Linked DNA regions of Homo sapiens: all the other regions are linked to region 2. Evidence: promoter capture Hi-C in human tissues and cell types (Jung and others, 2019). All regions are on one chromosome and are shown on one strand. Each heading gives the region's core, a stretch centred on a gene start or on the middle of the fragment in contact. The rest is flanking DNA. Distances are from core to core; before and after follow the strand shown. Region 1 overlaps TMCC2 (transmembrane and coiled-coil domain family 2). Region 2 holds the start of TMCC2 (transmembrane and coiled-coil domain family 2). Region 3 overlaps DSTYK (dual serine/threonine and tyrosine protein kinase).

Region 1 (3,097 bases), core at 592-3,091, 37 kb before region 2:
TCCCAAAGTGCTGGGATTACAAGCATGAGTCACCGCGCCCGGCCCAAAATTATGTTTTATAGGCAACACATGGCCTTTGATGTTACAGAACTTTTTTTTTTTTTTTTTTTTTGAGACAGAGTCTCGCTCTGTCGCCCAGGCTGCAGTGCAGTGGCGCAATCTTGGCTCACTGCAAGCTCCGCCTCCGGGGTTCACGCCATTCTCCTGCCTCGGCCTCCCGAGTAGCTGGGACTACAGGCGCCTGCCACCATGCCCGGCTAATTTTTTGTATTTTTAGTAGAGATGGGGTTTCACCGTGTTAGCCAGGATGGTCGCGATCTCCTGACCTCATGATCCGCCCGCCTCAGCCTCCCAAAGTGCTGGGATTACAGGCTTGAGCCACCACGCCCAGCCCAGAACCTGTCTCTCTTATAAAGCTGCTGCCCTTTCCACAGATGCCCAGCTCTCTTTCACTGTCTTCTTGGGAGAAAGAATATCTAGAAAATGGGTTCTGGGGCCAGGTGCAGTGCCTCATGCCTGTAATCCCAGCACTTTGGGAGGCTGAGGCGGGTGGATCATGAGGTCAGGGGTTCGAGACCAGCCTAACCAACATGGTGAAACCCTGTCTCTACTAAAAATACAAAAATTAGCTGGGCGTGGTGGCGGACGCCTGTAATCCCAGCTACTGAGGAGGCTGAGGCAGGAGAATTTCTTGAACTGGGAGGCAGAGGTTGCAGTGAGCCGAGATCACGCCACTGCACACCAGCCTGGGCGACAGAGCGAGACTCCGTCTCAAAAAAAAAAAAAAAAGAAAAGAAAATGGGTTCTGAGTCTGGCTGCATCACTGCCATTTGCTCATCTTTGTAACAGGGACAGAGTCTGTCCCAACTACTTAGGGGGAGAGTGGGAGGAGCTAATAAGAAATGGATGTGAAATGCTGTGAAAAGCAAAAGTGTTTTAGGACTATACAGGAGTGTAAAATAGCAAAGTCTCCACCTGCCGTGGCTCCTTCCTAGCAGCTTGGCTCTCTCCTCCCTTGATTTGGCATCTTTCTGGCTTACAAATGGAAAAGCGGAGTTGAAGCTGGCTGTGAAATCCCCATTAATGAGAGGAGAAGAAACACTCCTGGGAAAAACAGCTGGGGCCTGATGGTGGGTGCAGAGGCCTGGGCTGAAGCCCTGGCCCCCTCGTCCACCCCTCTTCTCTACCCTAGGACCCAGACTTGAGCCTAACAGTCCTGCAGCAGGACACCAGCTCCTTCCGTCCCTCCACAGAGGCCTGGACACCTCCTTGGTGACATGAAGGTCTGCAATGCCTGGATTGAGCGGGTCAGTCTCCAGTCACAGAACATATCCCCATTTTATTCTCTTCCCTGTGGAGGACTCAGTTCCACTGGCTTCCAGAAAGGTGGCATATTTTCCCTATGGCCTCTGGGCTCTTCTCTTTTTCTCAAATTCTAAATGTTTTGGACAAAGGATAAGGATAACAATTATAGTTAGCCTTCTGTATCTGAGAATTCCACATCCATGGATTCAACCAACCATGGATTAAAATAATAATAATACAAATTTTAAAATACAGGGGCCAGGCGCAGTGGCTCACACCTGTAATCCCAGCACTTTGGGAGGCCAAGGCGGGCGGATCACCTGAGGTTAGGAGTTGGAGACCAGCCTGGCCAACATGGTGAAACCCTGTCTCTACTAACAATACAAAAATTAGCTGGGTGTGGGATGTGGTGGCGGGCACCCGTAGTCCCAGCTACTCGGGAGGCTGAGGCGGGAGAATGGCGCGAACCTGGGAGGCGGAGCTTGCAGTGAACCGAGATCACGCCACTGCACTGCAGCCTGGGCAACAGAGCGAGACTCCGTCCCAAAAAAAAAAAACAAAATTAACTGAGTGTGGTGGCATGTTCCGGTTGTTCCAGCTACTCAGGAGGCTGAGGCAGAAGAATCACTTGAACCTGGGAGGCGGAAGTTGCAGTGAGCCAAGACTGCACCACTGCACTCCAGCCTGGGTGACAGAGACTCCGTCTCAAAAACAAAAACAAAAAACAAAAAACAAGAAACAACAGTGTCACACTATTTTCTATTTTCATAGTATTTACATTGTACTAGGTATTGTACGTAATCTAGAGATGATTTAAAGGGAGGATGTGTGCAGGTTCTATGCAAATACTACACTATTTACTGTATGAGACTTAAGCAATCTGGAACTTTGGTATCTGCAGGGGGTCTTGGAACCAATCTCCTTCAAACACTAACATTTCTTGACATACGTCAGACTTGTCTCTCAGTGTTTACACCTATTAATTCATTTAATCCCAGTATTAACCTCACAAGATGGGTAGCACTATTATTTCCATTTTACAGGAGAGAAAACCAAGGCCTACAGATGTAACTTGCCCAGGACTACACCACTAGTAAGTAAAGAACCTAGAATATAAATCCTGTCTGGCTCCAAAACTCAGGGCCTAACCTCACCTTGGAGGGCTGGGTAGCTCTGACAGATCCACAGCTTAAGACACCTTTGGCTGGGAGAGCTGGCCCTCTGCCACCTTTTTAGGAAGCAAGAGTCTAATCAGTGGTTATCAACCACAGCCCAGCCTCACTCCACAGCGATGAAACTGGAATTTCATATAGCTAAGACTGCAGGCTTTTTTTGTTTTTTGTTGAGTCAGAATCACTCTGCTGCCCAGGCTGGAGTGCTGGAGTGCTGGAGTGCAGTAAGGTAATCATGGTTCACTGCAGCCTTGACCTCCCCAGGCTCAAATCCTCCCACCTCAGCCTCCCCAGTAGCAGGGACTACAGGTACATGCCACCACACCTGGCTAATTTGTGTATTTTTTTGTAGAGAAAGGGTTTTGCCATGTTGCCCAGGCTGGTCTCAAACTCCTGGGCTTAAGCAATCCTCTTGCCTTGGCCTCCTAAAGTGCTGGGATTACAGGCCTGAGCCAAGCTGCACTCGGCCAGACTGTGGGTTTTTACACCCTGAGAGAGCAAGGAAAAAGAAAGGAGTTCTCCCCAGCCCCGTCCTGCCTTCTCCATATCTGAGGGCGTGCAAATCCTTAGAAAGGTCCAAATATTGGCCATAGCATTTAAAATCACCTCTGAAGACATCA
Region 2 (2,744 bases), core at 79-2,578:
GAGGTTGCAGTGAGCCGAGATCGCGCCACTGCACTCCAGCCTGGGCGACAGAACGAGACTCCGTCTCACACACATACACACACACACACACACACACACACACACACACACACACACACAAAGATCCCAATGGGTAGAGACTTACTCAGCAAGGAAAACTAATGGTCACCTGCTGTCCACTTTTTGGTTAGCATCTTGGATTTCTCCAGCCCTTTGTCTGCGAATAACACTTCACACATTATTCAAACAATCTCGGATGGGTGAGTCACTAAAACGCTTGCTGAATAATGGGGAACAAACACAGAGACCTGACACGGAGCTGAAAGACAGAGGCATAAATGGTACCTGACGTCCCCCCTGGGGTGCCAGCAAAGCATCCGCTCATCCTCTCTGACCTTTGCCTGGCTTCCCCCCTCACTTTTATCCTGTTAAAGCACTTCTGCGTGGGGTGGCGAGAGCTAAGTCGCGGGCTGGGCTTGCCGGGGGGATGGTCTGCGCTCACCTTTAAATCAGGAGGCTTGCTTCGGGGACCTGGGTTGGGCGCCGCGGCAGCGCCGGCGTCTGAAGTTGGCCCGCCAGCAGAGTTAGCACCCGTGGTCTCCCCAGGCCGGAGGTCCGCGCCCGGCAGGTGGGAAGCGGCATCTTCCAGCCCAGCTCCATCCTCCTCGCCCTGTTGTTGCTGCAGCTCGTCCGATCTGCACCTCTTCATGGTGTATGTGGGTCGGCAAGGGGAATCTGTCCTTCCAGCGCGCCGTCTTGGGGAAGACCGCACCCCCTCTTATATTCATATGAGGCCTGGGGTCTAAATTATTAACAAGGAGGGGAGATGGCAGACCACAATTTCTTGAATTAAAAAAAAAATTCTTAAAGGCGGGTGAGGGAGGGGCGAGAAGGGGGAGCCTTGGTTATAGCTTGGAATAGTTCATTTCGACCTGGGGAGCGAAGACAGGTCACAGTCGAGGCTGGGCAGCAAGAGTCCTTGGGCAGTCATTGCAGGAGGGAGAAGGGAGACAACCCCCGGCCCCCAAACTTTCTGCTTCAGGGCATGGGCAGGACGGAGAGGAGCTGGGCGGCACAGCGCATCCCTCCCGGCCGGCCGGGCTGCGGGGCGAGGCGGGGCGCGGGGCAGCCGGCCGGGCAGGTCCTAGTCGGCCGCCATCGGCGCCGGCTGCAGCCCCCGGCCCTGCAACCGGCCCCTGCCCCGCATGGTCCGGCCGCGGAGCCCGCAGCGCGCCCGGCCCCCTCCCCGGCCCGCGCGCCCCGCTCCCCGCCTGACGCGCAGCCTGCCGCAAAGCCGCGACCGCGGCCCGAGCCCGCGGCGAGCGCGCAACCTACCCCGCCCGGCTGCCTCCGCCCGGGAGCGGGAAGGCGAGGCTAGGAGGGAGTGACAGCGGCAACCGGCCAATGGGAAGCCCGCGGGGCTGAGGGGGCGTCGCGCAGCTTCGTTTTTGGGGTTGGTTGCACCGTGCGATCCCCCAGGAGAGGGCTGGAGGACGATGCTGCTGCGTTTTTGCATTGCAGAGAGCGGGCTGCAGTTCAGGGGCGGGGGCGGCGGGCGTGGGAGTCGCAGTTTCGGCTCCAGCTTGAGGGACCCTGCCGAGGAGGGCTCGCCCAGGATTTCCTCCACCCATTCGCTTTATTTGGCGAGAAGGAGCACAAGAGGGATGTTTATTATCACTGCTTTTTGGGGCTCTTAACTTTGCACCTTCTAGCCATAAGGGAGACACCTATCCCCTCTAGGATACTTGGTCTGAGTTAAATCTATGCCTACATTCAGAGCTGCAAATGCCAAGGGGAGGGGGCGTTCTCTCCTCATCGCCCCGTCCCCCGCTTTAAGTGCATTATTTCTTAATGAGACTTTACTTGGCATAATTTATGCTCAGAAATTGGGAAGAATTTCATATAAAAACACAATAACGTATGTGAGAGTTCCTTACAAACTGTGAAGCAGCTTTTAAATAAGAAAGGGTATTAATGGCAGGAGGTTGCTACATATAGATGTGTGGAAAGGGAATGCTGTCTCTCTTTGCATAAATCTCAGCCAAACTGTGCTGAGTAATCTGGAAGCAGAAGAGAGCAAACGTTGGGGTTACCAAGATATGGAGAGTAGTAATAATAACAACCCCATCTGAGTGTCTATTGTATGCCTCCTGTGGACACAATGGATTTTACTCATCCAGCAACCAGTGGTTCACAAATTGTGATCCTTGGACTAGCAACTTCAGCATCACACGGGAACTTGATAGAAATGCAAATTCTTGGCCACCAGCCAGACCTAGAGAATCAGAAGTAGTGAGCCAAGAAATCTGTGTTTTGACAAGCCCTCCAGGTAATTCTGACACACACTACCCTTTGAGAACCACTGGCCTAGACAGTGAAGGGGCCACACGGTCTCTAAAGGATTTTACAGTTTACCAATCTCTTTCGCACCCATCATGCCATTGTAGCCTCACTTCAGTCTCACTAGTCGGAGTTTCTTGACTTTCTGTTCTGTCTTCTTCCCATTCCAACCACTCATTTTAATGTGTATCCTAGAAGAGACTAATTTGTTAAGAATTTACTTCAGCCAAGCAGCTACTTTCTAAACTAGGCAGCTCCACTTTTAGAAGATAGGAATTTAGGATGGGCTGGGAATGTGGAACCACCCCCCACATCTACCACAAAGAATCGAGCACAATGTGGAAACACAAAGCTATAAGCCTTTATTTAGCATTTTCAATGGTGAGGGGATGGCAGGATGCCAG
Region 3 (2,813 bases), core at 267-2,766, 33 kb after region 2:
TGGTTCCTGTGTCCTTTTGACATATTCCCACCTTTGGATCATTGGTAATGCTTATAAACTGTTATACACTGCGTTCCAAATGCCAGAAACTAAGCCCTCTGTAAAGCATGGGGTTGGCTTCCTTCAAGGAACTACTTCCATCTCTGCGTCCCATACGTTAAAGCCTCAACTGCCAGCTGTGATTCTGTTCCCTCGGTAGTGTGACCAGTCTCAGGAGCAGTTTCACCCAGAAAGGAGCTTGTTCAGCATGCTGCTGAGTGCGTTCCCATTTCACGTGGCTCCCAGGGAGTATCAGCCCCTAGGGAGGCGGTCTCCTCTCCCCCGGTGCCAATACTATCTGCTTCTTAAAAGCTGTGAGAGATCTTAACGTGGTCCTGACATAGAATAACTTTAGAGAGACTTCTGCCAACTTGACTTTTCCGATTCCAGCGAGAGCTTTGCCTACTAGAGTGCATTTCAGTCTCTAATCTTCAATAACCATCCCCTTCCAAAGAAATAGCGTGTACTACTTGGTCCTGAAGATTCTGAAAGCCAGACTACCTAAGCATCTGTTTGTCTTAAATGAGGGTGCCTTCTGTGTCAGTCTTTAAAATTTAGCTGAAGGTCAGAGAGCTTGTTTAGGAAGGATAAATAAATATTTCTAGACTGAATTTTTTCTGTCTCAGTCCCTGGAATTTTTGTAGCTTAGTACTTTGAAGCTTGTGGTAGAATTGACTGTAGTAGAAAGACTATATAAGATTACTTTCTCAATTTAGGATTTGTTCTTTTCTCTACTTTTGGTATAGATAGTAAGAAATAAAACATCACTACCTATTTGTGGAAATGCATCTTTGTGTCACTGGTTGCCTCAGTTAACTATAAAAATCCTTTGTTTTTCATTCACTTTCAGAGGGGACTTAAGTTGACTTCCCATAAAAGCATGGAAAATTCAATGTTAGAAGTGATATTTTTGGCCAGGCATGGTGGCTCACACCTGTAATCTCAGCACTTTGGGAGGCTGAGGCAGGCGGATCACCTGAGGTCAGGAGTTTGAGATCAGCCTGGCCAACATGGTGAAATCCTGTCTATACAAAAAAAAAAAAAAAAAATTAGTGGCACTTGCCTGTAGTCCCTGCTACTCGGGAGGCTGAGGCACGAGAATCACTTGAACCTGGGAGGTAGAGGTTGCCCTGACCCAAGATCATGCCACTACACTCCAGCCTGGGCGACAGAGCTGGAGTTTTGGCACACGCCTGTAGTCCCAGCTACTTGGTACTTGGGAGGCTGAGGCACAGGAATTGCTTGAACCAGGGAGGTGGAGGTTGCTATGACCCAAGATCATGCTACTGCACTCCAGCCTGGGCGACAGAGCTGGAGTTTTCTTTTTTTGAGCTCTGTCTCTGTCTTTTTTTTTTAGGCCAGGCACGGCGGCTCATGCCTATAATCCTAGCACTTTGGGAGGCTGAGGTGGGAGGGTCGCTTGAACCCAGGAGTTTGAGACCAGCCTGGGCAACATAGTGAGACCCCATCTCTATTTTAAAAAAAAAAAAAAAAGTGAGATTTTTAAAACTACTGAAGGAGGGAAATCCTTGGGTACCAGGAACAAGTATTGCAGTAATAACTCTGTTGAGACCTGAATTAACTTTGAAGTCCATGTTAACTTTATGAGCTGCAGGAGTATAATAAAGCAAAAGCATTTTCTATTTCACCAACTTTTGTAGTGCCTTCCCTACCTTGGACATAGACTGTACCTTAAGAGCCTTCAGTTACCTTTCACGAGTATGTATTATTGATTGGTAGTGGCTGAAAGGTGTGATAGATTTCCTCACTCATCTTGAGGGTCATGGCCAACACTTCTCTAACAAAAGACAGTTTAACAAGAGAAAAGCATAACAAATTTATGTGACACGGGAGCCTTTAGAAATGAAGTCACAAAGACCCAGGGAAAACTGTTTTTATGCTTAGGTTTGATGAAGAATTGACTGCTTTGTAGAAAGTGATTGGACAGTAGGACATGATCTAATGGTAATAGACTGAGAAACCCAGCAAGGCTGGTCTGCTCAGGTTATTCTTGGGCTCTTTATGTGCATTCCTTCCCCCAGGGTGTGGGATGTGGCAGGTCCTCTCTGGAATGAGGGTCTTCAGAGGAAAAGAGAGCAACCTTTCTAGTTTTATGGCTTGCTTCAGAGAAGAGGATTGCTAGTTAGTTCCTTTTTTTTTTTTTTTTTGAGACGGAGTCTCACTCTGTTGCCCAGGCTGGAGTGCAGTGGCACTATCTCGGCTCACTGCAGCCCCTACCTCCCAGGTTCAAGCGATTCTCCTGCCTTAGCCTCCTAACTAGTTGGGACTATAGGCACATGCTACCACGCCTGGCTAATTTTTGTATTTTTAGTAGAGGTGGGGTTTTACCATGTTGGCCAGGCTGGTCTCGAACTCCTGACCTCAAGTGATCCACCCACCTGGGCCTCCCAAAGTGTTGGGATTACAGGCATGAGCCACTGTGCCCGGCCAGGGTTTCTAGTTTCTATGGTCTTGAGGAAGAGGAATTCTGGTTTCTGTGAGTAGCTTAAGGGGAGAAAAAGGGGAGGCAGACAGGAGGCTAGGAGAAGGTCAGAGAGCAACCTTGCTTCTGAAGCCTTCCAATCTCCTTTAGTTCAAAGTGCTCAGCATGCCAAAGCACCATACTTTGGGCTATTGTTTTCTGAGCCTGATGGGATGGAAAATAGGCAAGAAGGAGAATGTGTTGCTACAAATCGATTGACATTACCCCAAAAACAATTTAAATAAAGTATGTATCTTAAAGAGTCACTAGCAACAGAAACAGGTCACGAGTA

Evidence for each region. Contacts are between HindIII fragments. The study calls those that stand out against the background at their distance.
Region 1: a contact is called between a fragment that was not itself captured here and the fragment with the promoter of TMCC2 in region 2, in 2 of the 25 tissues and cell types used here (IMR-90 fibroblasts and hippocampus).
Region 3: a contact is called between a fragment that was not itself captured here and the fragment with the promoter of TMCC2 in region 2, in 1 of the 25 tissues and cell types used here (hippocampus).

Annotation. Positions count from the first base shown.
Region 1 is chr1:205,263,256-205,266,352 of GRCh38, reverse strand. All of the region lies in intron 2 of TMCC2 (transmembrane and coiled-coil domain family 2), which reads right to left. Among named protein-coding and RNA genes, the nearest start is that of TMCC2-AS1, 28 kb to the right of the region's middle. RefSeq lists an enhancer at 2,391-3,088. The HindIII fragment of the contact is 8,685 bases long and covers 1-3,097 here.
Region 2 is chr1:205,226,530-205,229,273 of GRCh38, reverse strand. TMCC2 (transmembrane and coiled-coil domain family 2) reads right to left here and starts at 1,328. Exons shown (of 5, transcript NM_014858.4): 1 at 503-1,328. The coding sequence starts at 709. RefSeq lists a silencer at 1,228-1,407 and an enhancer at 1,538-1,677. The HindIII fragment of the contact is 10,382 bases long and covers 1-2,744 here.
Region 3 is chr1:205,193,265-205,196,077 of GRCh38, reverse strand. The region is part of intron 1 of DSTYK (dual serine/threonine and tyrosine protein kinase); the gene reads left to right. Among named protein-coding and RNA genes, the nearest start is that of DSTYK, 17 kb to the left of the region's middle. RefSeq lists a cis regulatory region at 1,408 and an enhancer at 1,336-1,480. The HindIII fragment of the contact is 4,492 bases long and covers 1-2,813 here.